2 separate regions of the Homo sapiens genome follow, and region 1 is linked to region 2. The links are contacts of gene promoters, found by promoter capture Hi-C in blood cells and fetal thymus (Javierre and others, 2016). All regions are on one chromosome and are shown on one strand. Each heading gives the region's core, a stretch centred on a gene start or on the middle of the fragment in contact. The rest is flanking DNA. Distances are from core to core; before and after follow the strand shown.

The links. The method cuts DNA at HindIII sites, captures the fragments that hold promoters and counts their contacts. A CHiCAGO score of 5 or more calls a contact.
Region 1: the fragment with the promoter of GAB1 here is called in contact with the fragment with the promoter of MGST2 in region 2 in 1 of 17 cell types (monocytes); the score reaches 7.2 in monocytes.

What each region holds. Positions count from the first base shown.
Region 1 is chr4:143,335,235-143,339,655 of GRCh38, forward strand. GAB1 (GRB2 associated binding protein 1) reads left to right here and starts at 1,642. Exons shown (of 10, transcript NM_002039.4): 1 at 1,642-2,026. The coding sequence starts at 1,955. It also overlaps the pseudogene LOC124900789. RefSeq lists enhancers at 449-658, 1,568-2,381 and silencers at 851-1,018, 959-1,258, 1,359-1,418, 1,489-1,538. The HindIII fragment of the contact is 8,165 bases long and covers 1-4,421 here.
Region 2 is chr4:139,663,832-139,668,479 of GRCh38, forward strand. It overlaps MGST2 (microsomal glutathione S-transferase 2), which reads left to right and starts at 1,988. Exons shown (of 5, transcript NM_002413.5): 1 at 1,988-2,246. The coding sequence starts at 2,189. RefSeq lists enhancers at 1,547-2,746, 2,043-2,212. The HindIII fragment of the contact is 3,780 bases long and covers 638-4,417 here.

The sequences.
Region 1 (4,421 bases), core at 392-2,891, 3.7 Mb after region 2:
CTCTCTCTCTTTTTTTTTTTTTTTTTTTTTGACGGAGTTTTGCTCTTGTTGCCCAGGCTGGAGCGCAGTGTCGCGATCTCGGCTCACCGCAATCTCCGCCTCCCGGGTTCAAGCTATTTTCCTGTCTCAGCCTCCCGAGTAGCTGGGATTATAGGCGCGCGCCACTACGCCCGGCTAATTTTTGTATTTTTAGTAGAGATTGGGTTTCTCCATGTTGGTCAGGCTGGTCTTGAACTCCCGACCTCAGTTGATCCGCCCGCCTCGGCCTCCCAAAGTGCTGGGATTACAGGCGTGAGCCACCGCGCCCGGCCAAGTGTCCCTCTTCTAGTCCAGCATCCGAACAGTAGATTTCAAACAAATACAAAGTTAAGTGGAATAGGCAACAAATGGAAGGGGTGTGAGACTTCAAAATGTCTCAGAGATAGGACCCAACCAAATCCTTGGCCTCGCCAAGCGCCCCCATCACTCTGGCAGAACAGCTCCAGAGACCAGCCCTGGCCAGCCCTGGGTCCCCATCTGTCCTCCCCTCCAAGCTGGTAGCTCCCGCGCCCTCTTGGTCTGTCCTTTAATCTCGCGCGGCGGGGACCGGCAGGATGGTGGTCTCCCCGCGGTTTTGCCTTTCAGGCTCTCAAGTAAAGAAAACCCTCGAAACTCCTGATCTCGAGCACAGCACAAGCTCCGAGCTGGCACCGGGCTGAGTCAAGATGGCAAGCCCCGGACTGAACATTCGAATGTCCCTCAGTCTTCCCCGCGCCCAAGCCCCGGTGCCTCTGCCCTAGCCGAGGCCTCTGCGGTCTTCCCGGGCGAGGAGCCGATTGGGGGCCGCCGGACGGCGGAGGACCCTGCTCCTGCTTCCCGAACTACAGATCCCAGGGTGCCTCTCGGACTCGCGCTCCCTCCCTCCCTTGCTCCCTCCCTTCGTCCGTCTCCTCCCCCGGCCCTTGTTGTTTTGGCTGGAAGCACTCCGGCGGAGTTTCAGAGAAAGTCTGGGCAGAAACCGGAGCCGGGCCTGAACGTGGGAAGGGGAGGAGGAGAGGGAGGAAGAAGGAGCCCGGCGGCCGGGAGAGGGAGGGAGGGATCGGGATCTGGGGCCGAGCCGCTCAGGACCTGCCGCGAGCCCCGGGGTGGGGGAGGCGGCGGGGGAGGAGCGCGAGGGGACGGGACAGCGGGATCCCTCCCAGGAGCCAAGCCGCCAAGCGCCTCGTTCCTCTGCTGCTCCCCGCCCTCTTCGGCGGCCGCGAGAGCGGACCCACCCTCCGGCTTGACCTGCGACCTCCCTGCGCCCGCCGCTCAGAAACGCCCCGCGCTTCGCTGCCAACCCTGCGGCTCCCTCTGTGACCCGGGACCAGCCCCGCGCCCGCTGCCCGTAGGCGGCTCGCGGCTTCCCCTTTCCTCGGCGTTCACCGAGCGCCGCGAAGTGACCCACCCTCCCCCGAGGAGAGGGAAGGAGGATCGCTCCGGGCGCATCGAAACCGAGGGCGGGTGGGCGGGCGAGCGGGCACCGCGCGGGGCATTGTGTGTGTGTGTGTGTGTGTGTGTGTGTGTGAGCAGCGCTGTGTCTGTTTCGGAAAGCGCTCTGGGGAGGTCTTGTCCCTAGGGGGCGGAGCGCAAAGGACAGAAGCTCCGGCACCGAGTCGGGGCAGAGTCCCGCTGAGTCCGAGCGCTGCTGAGGCAGCTGGCGAGACGGCACGTCTGGAGGCGAGGCGGGCGCACTGAAAGGAGGCCGGCGCGCCCGCGGCCCCGGCTCGCGTTCTGTTCAGGTTCGTGGGCCTGCAGAGGAGAGACTCGAACTCGTGGAACCCGCGCACCGTGGAGTCTGTCCGCCCAGTCCGTCCGGGGTGCGCGACCAGGAGAGCTAGGTTCTCGCCACTGCGCGCTCGGCAGGCGTCGGCTGTGTCGGGAGCGCGCCCGCCGCCCCTCAGCTGCCCGGCCCGGAGCCCGAGACGCGCGCACCATGAGCGGTGGTGAAGTGGTCTGCTCCGGATGGCTCCGCAAGTCCCCCCCGGAGAAAAAGTTGAAGCGTTATGTAAGTAGAGCTGCGGGCACCACTCCGCGGGCCTCGGCGTCCACACCCCTCCCCAGTCGGCTCGCCGGCGGCTGCAGCTGGCCGCGCGCGGGGCTGGTTCTTAAACGAATGCCGGTCTCTTTCCCCTTGGCCCCTACCCCTGGCGGGCTCGGGACAGGGTGCCTTGCACTCCCTCACGCCCAGGCATCCACTTGGCCGGACAACTTTCTTCCTCCAGGTTCCAGACAGCCTGCTTTGCGGGCCTGTTCGCCCCATAAAAGGACCTAGACGTCCAGCTAAACTCCTGCTGCATGCTTTTTTTCTTCCTTAGGAAGGATGGGGTGCGATGGAGAGAGGAGCCTTCTTCCTGCTTTATTCCTGCATCTGATTATTGGGCTGATGTGTGCTAAAGCTCCCGCACCGGGAAAACTGCCGAGGTTTTAGGGCTCACTAGCCCTTTCTTTGGTGGGCGCTCCCTCTCCTCCGCCCCTCGAGATGGGTTGCGGGAAGCGGGCTGTGGAGCTGAGGAGTTGGTAGTAGAGACAAGCATATCGAACGCGCGCAAAAGGGAAAGAAAGAAAAGTTATTACGCGCCCTGCCGTTTGCTTAGCAGGGTTCACATTTTCGCGGTTTTGAATTGAGGGACTTTGGAGTTTGGCCCGGGAGCCTTGGCGGTTTGCTGCGAGAGGAGGGCGCTGGGGGGGAGCCTAGTGGCTGGTGTTTGGGCGCCTTGGATGTGCTGTCAAACTCGGCAGGAGGGGACAGCTGAAGCCAGAAGGGATTTCAGTTGCGGTCCTTTCCCAGGGAACCAGAGTGGCTTTAATGGTGTTTGTGTAATTGATACAAGATGCTATGTGTTAAACCGTTTTAGCTGTTAGGAAAAATATTCCTTGAAAGTATCAACCTTGCTTTAGTGGAAACCTGTGTCCTCTTCAGAGGTCTGGGATCTTATTCTTCCTCCCCATTGGTTGTTTTGTTGCTGCTCCCTTGCAAAGGAAAGAAATGACACTTTTGTGCTGACATCTGGATCAAATATTTTTCTAGTAAAATGTGTTTGCAAAAGCAAAATTTATGCCCCCTTAAATATAATATAAATTTAATGCCTGTACGAAGGGAACCCGTTTGTCGTTGAGGAATATCTACACCCAGTATTAGAGCTCAGGTTAATCCTGTTAGTCACTGTTTGCTTGTATAGAACAGAGTGAAGTACACAGAGTGAAGTATTTAACTTCACTGACAACTCACCAGTGAATTTCTGATTTACTTTCTGCCAGAATTTATTATAGACAAGTAATTTTATTGAAAGACTCGATGCCACAAATCATAAGAAAGCTCTCCAGAGATGTGTAATGCCTCCAAATCCTGTCCATCTATCAGTTTTCCTGAATATCCTAGTAAAAATGCTAACTTTATTCCAAAAATATGAACGAGGCAGTGTTTTTTTTTCCAGCTGTTCTAAAGAGAAAGGTAGGGGTGTGTGTGTGTGTGTGTATGTGACAGAGAAGGAAGGGAGAAAGGGGTAGGGAGATAAATATATTTGTTTTGAGAAGGCCCAATTTAGGAAAAACAGATTCTTGGAGGAATTAAAGAATAACATATTTGCTGAACGTGAAAGTGATAATATAGGTTTAATTCATTCTTTCACATGGTTAGTTCATGGCTCACTCAAAAGACGCCAGGCACTGTATTAGACACCAACCATAAGGTCACAAAATACAGTAGGAAAAAGGAAAAAAGCCCTGCCTCTTGGGCTTAGAATTCAATTGAACTATTAACCAGGAAAGAAATCAGCCAAAAAGATTATGTCTTAACAAGAAAAACAAAAAGGAAAGTATAATTTGATCATTACAACTGTTTTCTGAGGTAGGTGTCATCTCTATTTTACAGAAAACAGTCCTGCATTTGAACCCAGATCTGCCTGATTGATTGGACTGTAAAAGGTTAACGACTCTCACCTAGTTCATTTCAAATGTGGAGCTTAGACTAGGTTATCTCTAAAGGTCCTTCAGGCTCACACCTGTAATCCCAGCACTTTGGGAGGCCGAGGCCAGTGGATCACCTGAGGTCAGGAGACCAGCCTGGCCAACATGGCGAAACTCTGTCTCTACTAAAAATACAAAAAATAGCCGGGCGTGGTGGTGTACGCCTGTAATCCCAGCTGCTGGGGAGGCTGAGGCAGGAGAAATGCTTGAACCTGGGAGGTGGAGGTTGCAGTGAGCAGAGTTTGTGCCATTGCACTGCAGCCTGGATGACAGGGTGAGACTCCGTCTCAAAAATAGCAACAACAAAATAAAGGTCCTTTCAGATTATAACTTTTCCTGACTCTGAATATTAGTTGAGAATACAAGAATGAGGTGGACTATGGATCAGGTGCACAGTGCTAAAGAAATGTAAGACCTAGTCTTTGCCTTTAAGT
Region 2 (4,648 bases), core at 738-3,237:
GGCTTGCAACTATTTATAAATTAATTTTGTTATTCCTTCTTTCCTGTATATGTGTAGTTCCATGAATTCTACTTTGAACTGGTTATAACATCTTACTGGTTCCCTCATGAATGAGTTACATAAAAATTTTGATATGTTTTCATTTTATGTTGTATGAAAGGCATGATTTTTGCCTCTGAAAGTATTTTTTAACATTAGGTACATTATATGCTAAGTACTTGTCTAGATACTTTATGTGTTTATTTTGCAGACACACAGAACACATTTGTATATGCCAGGTGCTGTTTTAAGTGCTCTATAAGTATTAACTAATTCAATCCTTAGAATAGGATTATGTCATTTAAACTTCTCTTCAGCTCTTATTAGCCCTATCTTATTAAATGGAGGCTCAGAGAGGCCCAAGGTTGTGTTATTAAATTGTAGGGTCTGTGTGAGGCTGAGGCAACTGCCCTCCCCAGAAGACACTGGGAGCTCCCTGCTAGGGACTAAATGTTTGTGTCCCCTCTGCAATTCATATGTTGAGACCCTAACCCCCAACGTGATGTTATCAGGCATTTGGCAGATAATTAGCTACAGGTGAGGTTATGAGCATAGGCCCCCATAATGGGATCTGTGCCCTTATAAGAAGTGACCAGGAAGCTTACTCTTTCTCTGTCTCCAACATGAAGGTGTCCTTCTGCAAACCAGGAAGAGGGCCCTCACCAGGAACTGATTGGCCAGCACTGTCATCTTGGACTTCCCAGCCTTCAGGACTGTGACGAATAAATTGCTATTGTAAGCCACCCAGTCTATGGTATCTTTGTTATAGCAGCTTGAGCCAAGATATACCCTCTAATGGTGCTGTAGGATGGGGTGAGGAAAGGCCCCCAGCTCTGGTTTTTGGGAAGCTGCATCTTTATTTTTATTATTTGTTTGAGACAGGGTCTCACTTTGTCACCCAGGCTGAAGTGCAGTGGAACGACCTTGGCTCACTGCAGTCTCAGGCTCCTGGGTTCAAGCAATCCCCTTGCCTCAGCCCCCTAAGTAGCTGGGACTACAGGCACGTGCCACCATGCCCTGCTAATTTTTGTATTTCTTTAAGAGATGGGGTTTTGCCATGTTACCCAGGCTGGTCTCGAACTCCTGAGCTCAAACCATCTGCCCATTTCAGCCTCCCAAACTGTTGGGATTACAGGCATGAGCCATCCTTCCAGGCCAGAATCTGCATCTCTAAAGAGCAGATTCTCCTGCCTCAGCCTCCTGCGTAGCTGGGACTACAGGTTCGTGCCACCATGCCCAGCTGATTTTTTGTATTTTTAGTAGAGAAGGGGTTTTACTGTGTTAGCCAGGATAGTCTTGATCTCCTGACCTCGTGATTCACCCTCCTTGGCCTCTTAAAGTGCTGGGATTACAAGTGTGAGCCATCGCGCCCGGCCGGTTTATTTTTTTAAAAATGGCTGGGCACAGTGACTTGTGGCTGTAGTTCTAGCTACTTGGGAGGCTGAGGCAGGAGGATTACTTAAGCCCAAGAGTTGGAGGCTGCAGTGAGCTATGATCGTGCCACCACACACTCCAGCCTGGGTGACAGATCAAGACCCTGTCTTAAAAAAAAAAAGTATGATTATTATCAGAGTCTCTAGGTGACAGTGAGAGGCAGCCTGGTGCAGGGGATAGGGCACAGTTGTAATCTGCTAGACTGGGTTCAAATCCTAAATCGGCCATTCAGAGCGTGAATACATTAGAACTGGCTTAAATTAGCATTTAAAATGTCAACAGGATTAAGTAAGTAGTTCCTTCTCACTTTTTCCACAGGAGGTGAGAAAGGTCTCAGCAAGGCCCTAGGAGGGAAGGGCGTGGGGATGAAAGGGATCCAGAGAGTCTGTGCATTGGCAGAGAAGATAGTGTAACTGGCACTGCGGCTGGAGGGCTGGTCCCACAGTGAGCTACAGCCCTGCCCGCTGGCCGTGGGAGAGGCTTAAAACAAACGCCGGAAGCAACTCCCAGCCCCATAAAGATCTGTGACCGGCAGCCCCAGACCTGCCTGCCTTCCTGACTTCTGTTCCAGAGCAAAGGTCATTCAGCCGCTTGAATCAGCCTTTTCCCCCCACCCGGTCCCCAACTTTGTTTACCCGATAAGGAAGGTCAGCATTCAAAGTCAAGAAGCGCCATTTATCTTCCCGTGCGCTCTACAAATAGTTCCGTGAGAAAGATGGCCGGGAACTCGATCCTGCTGGCTGCTGTCTCTATTCTCTCGGCCTGTCAGCAAAGTAAGAGGCATGGGAAGTTCGTGTGTGTGCGCGTGTGTGCGTGTGTGTGTGTGTGTGACAAGGCTTGCGGGAGAGAGAGGGAGGGAGGGAGATGGGTCCGGTGTTTTGTTTCCTACTTGCCCTTGCAGGTAGCTCTGGGTCCTCAGAGCACAGTCGCCTCAGGGTCACCCATGCCGCCTGCTACCCTCCTTCCCAGGGGCAAGCAGAGACTGAGAACATTCCAGAGATTAGTTCTCCCAACTGGAACGCTGTGGGGCCTCAGAGCTCAGCGATTCTGCATCATCTGTGATTACGACCCACAGCCCGTTCAAACGAGCGTTAGTAGCCTGCTAACCTGCAGGAAGTGGTGTGAATATTAATTACAAGTGTTCCAAAGGAAACGTGCCTGCTTCTAAACCTGGTTGTGATTTCTTGAACGTTGATGTTTTAATTAATGTGTTTTCTTAAATAAACTGCCTATGGTGGTATGATTATCAGATTGAAAAAAACTTCCTTCAGAAATATTAGCTTTAGATTAAGTAATTAGCTCTAAATTTTAAAACAGCTTCCCACTAGGATTATTCAATATCTCGACTGCCTGGTTAAATAGAGGGCTTTTACTCCATGGGAGTCACATTTGCTCAATTCATATTATCTTACCTACAATGTCAGCTGGGGAAAGGGGTCCGAGTGCAAGAGTGCAAGACTTCTTACCAAGCATGCATATTTCTTTATATTTCCAAGTATGCCTGTACCAGGAAATAGGGCCAAGCCGTAGACTGCTCAGGTTACACAAACAGCCAGAAGCAGGAAGGCCTCACAGCTGAGGATCCAGTCCAGGCCTCCGTGCATGCTCAATGTCTTGCCTAGCCAGTCTGTTTTGAGATTGTATGAAGATCTTGAACCTTCAGACTCACGTTTTGTGGTTTGATTCACACAATCTGTTGTGGAGAAGAGCAGGATATTTGTTTCTAATTAAAGAAGCACTTAGATCTGTTAAAAGGAAAACCCTAGACAAATTACATTTAACTGAGTTTAATTGAGCAAAGAACGATTCACAGTTGGGCATGGGGAACCGGAATAGGTTCAGAGAGACTCTGGGGCTGCCACGTGGTAGAAGAAGATTTATGGACAGAAAAAGGAAAGCGACTCCCAGAAAACGGAAGCATATAGTTCACGATGTACGGAGAAACCTTTAGGCTGAACTTAAAATATGTCAGAAGGCAGCTTTAGGCTAAACCTAATTTAGCAGGTCTAAGGCTCACTGTTGGTAGCATCCTGACTCACAGGTGCTACCAAACCTGCATGCGCCTTTATCCTAGGCCTGCAGGTCCACAGATGTCCCAAAGCTGACAGAGGTGCTCATCCTCCCTGTTTGCTGCTTGTGCAGGGGGCTGTGTGAACTGGGGCCAGAATGTTAGGGGGCTGGATGGAGTGGGGGTAGGGGTGGGGAGAGAGGAGAGGAGACTGGGTGAATGATGATTAATGGTGGACAGGGAATGTTTAATGACAAGGTGTTAGGGCCGGGCACGGTGGCTCACCCCTGTAATCCGAGTACTTTGGGAGGCCAAGGCAGGTGGATCACGAGGTCAAGAGATCGAGACCATCCTGGCCAACATGGTGAAACTCCGTCTCTACTTAAAATACACAAATTTGCTGGACATGGTGGCACGCTCCTGTAGTCCCAGCTACTAGGGAGGCTGAGGCAGGAGAATCGCTTGAACCTGGGAGGGGGAGGTTGCAGTGGACTGAGATCACAGCACTACACTCCAGCCTGGCAACAGAGCGAGACTCCATCTCAAAGAAAAAAAAAAGATGTTGATGAAGAGTTGAACTTTGTAAAATAATTGAAAAGCTGTATTCTGAGCCAAACATGAGGGACGAGTGGCCGGTGACACAGCCCAAGGAGATTCTAAGAACATCTGCCCAAAGGGGTCTGGCTACAGATTGGTTTTATACATTTTAGGGAGACATAAGACATCAACCAATTCATGTAAGATGTACATTAGTTTGGTCCCAAAAGGCGGGACAACTGGAAGTGGGGCATGGGCTTCCAGGTCATAGGTGGATTTAAAGATTTTCTGATTGGCAATTGATTAAAAGAGTTTATCTACAGACCTCAAATCCATAGAAGGGAGTGCCTGGGTTAAGATAAGGGGTTGTGGAGGCCAAGGTTCTTACTATGCAAATGAAGCTTCCAGGTAGCAGCGTTTGGAGAGAATAGATTGTAAATGTTTCTTATGAGACTTGAAAAGGTGCCAGACTCTGTTAATTCTCTCCTGGATCAGAGAAAAGACCTGGCAAGGGAAAGGGATTTTCTACAGAATGTAGACTTTCCCCACAAGAGACAACTTTGCAGGACCATTTCAAAATATGACAAAGAAATATATTTTAGGGTAAAATACTTCAATTTCTTTCAAGGC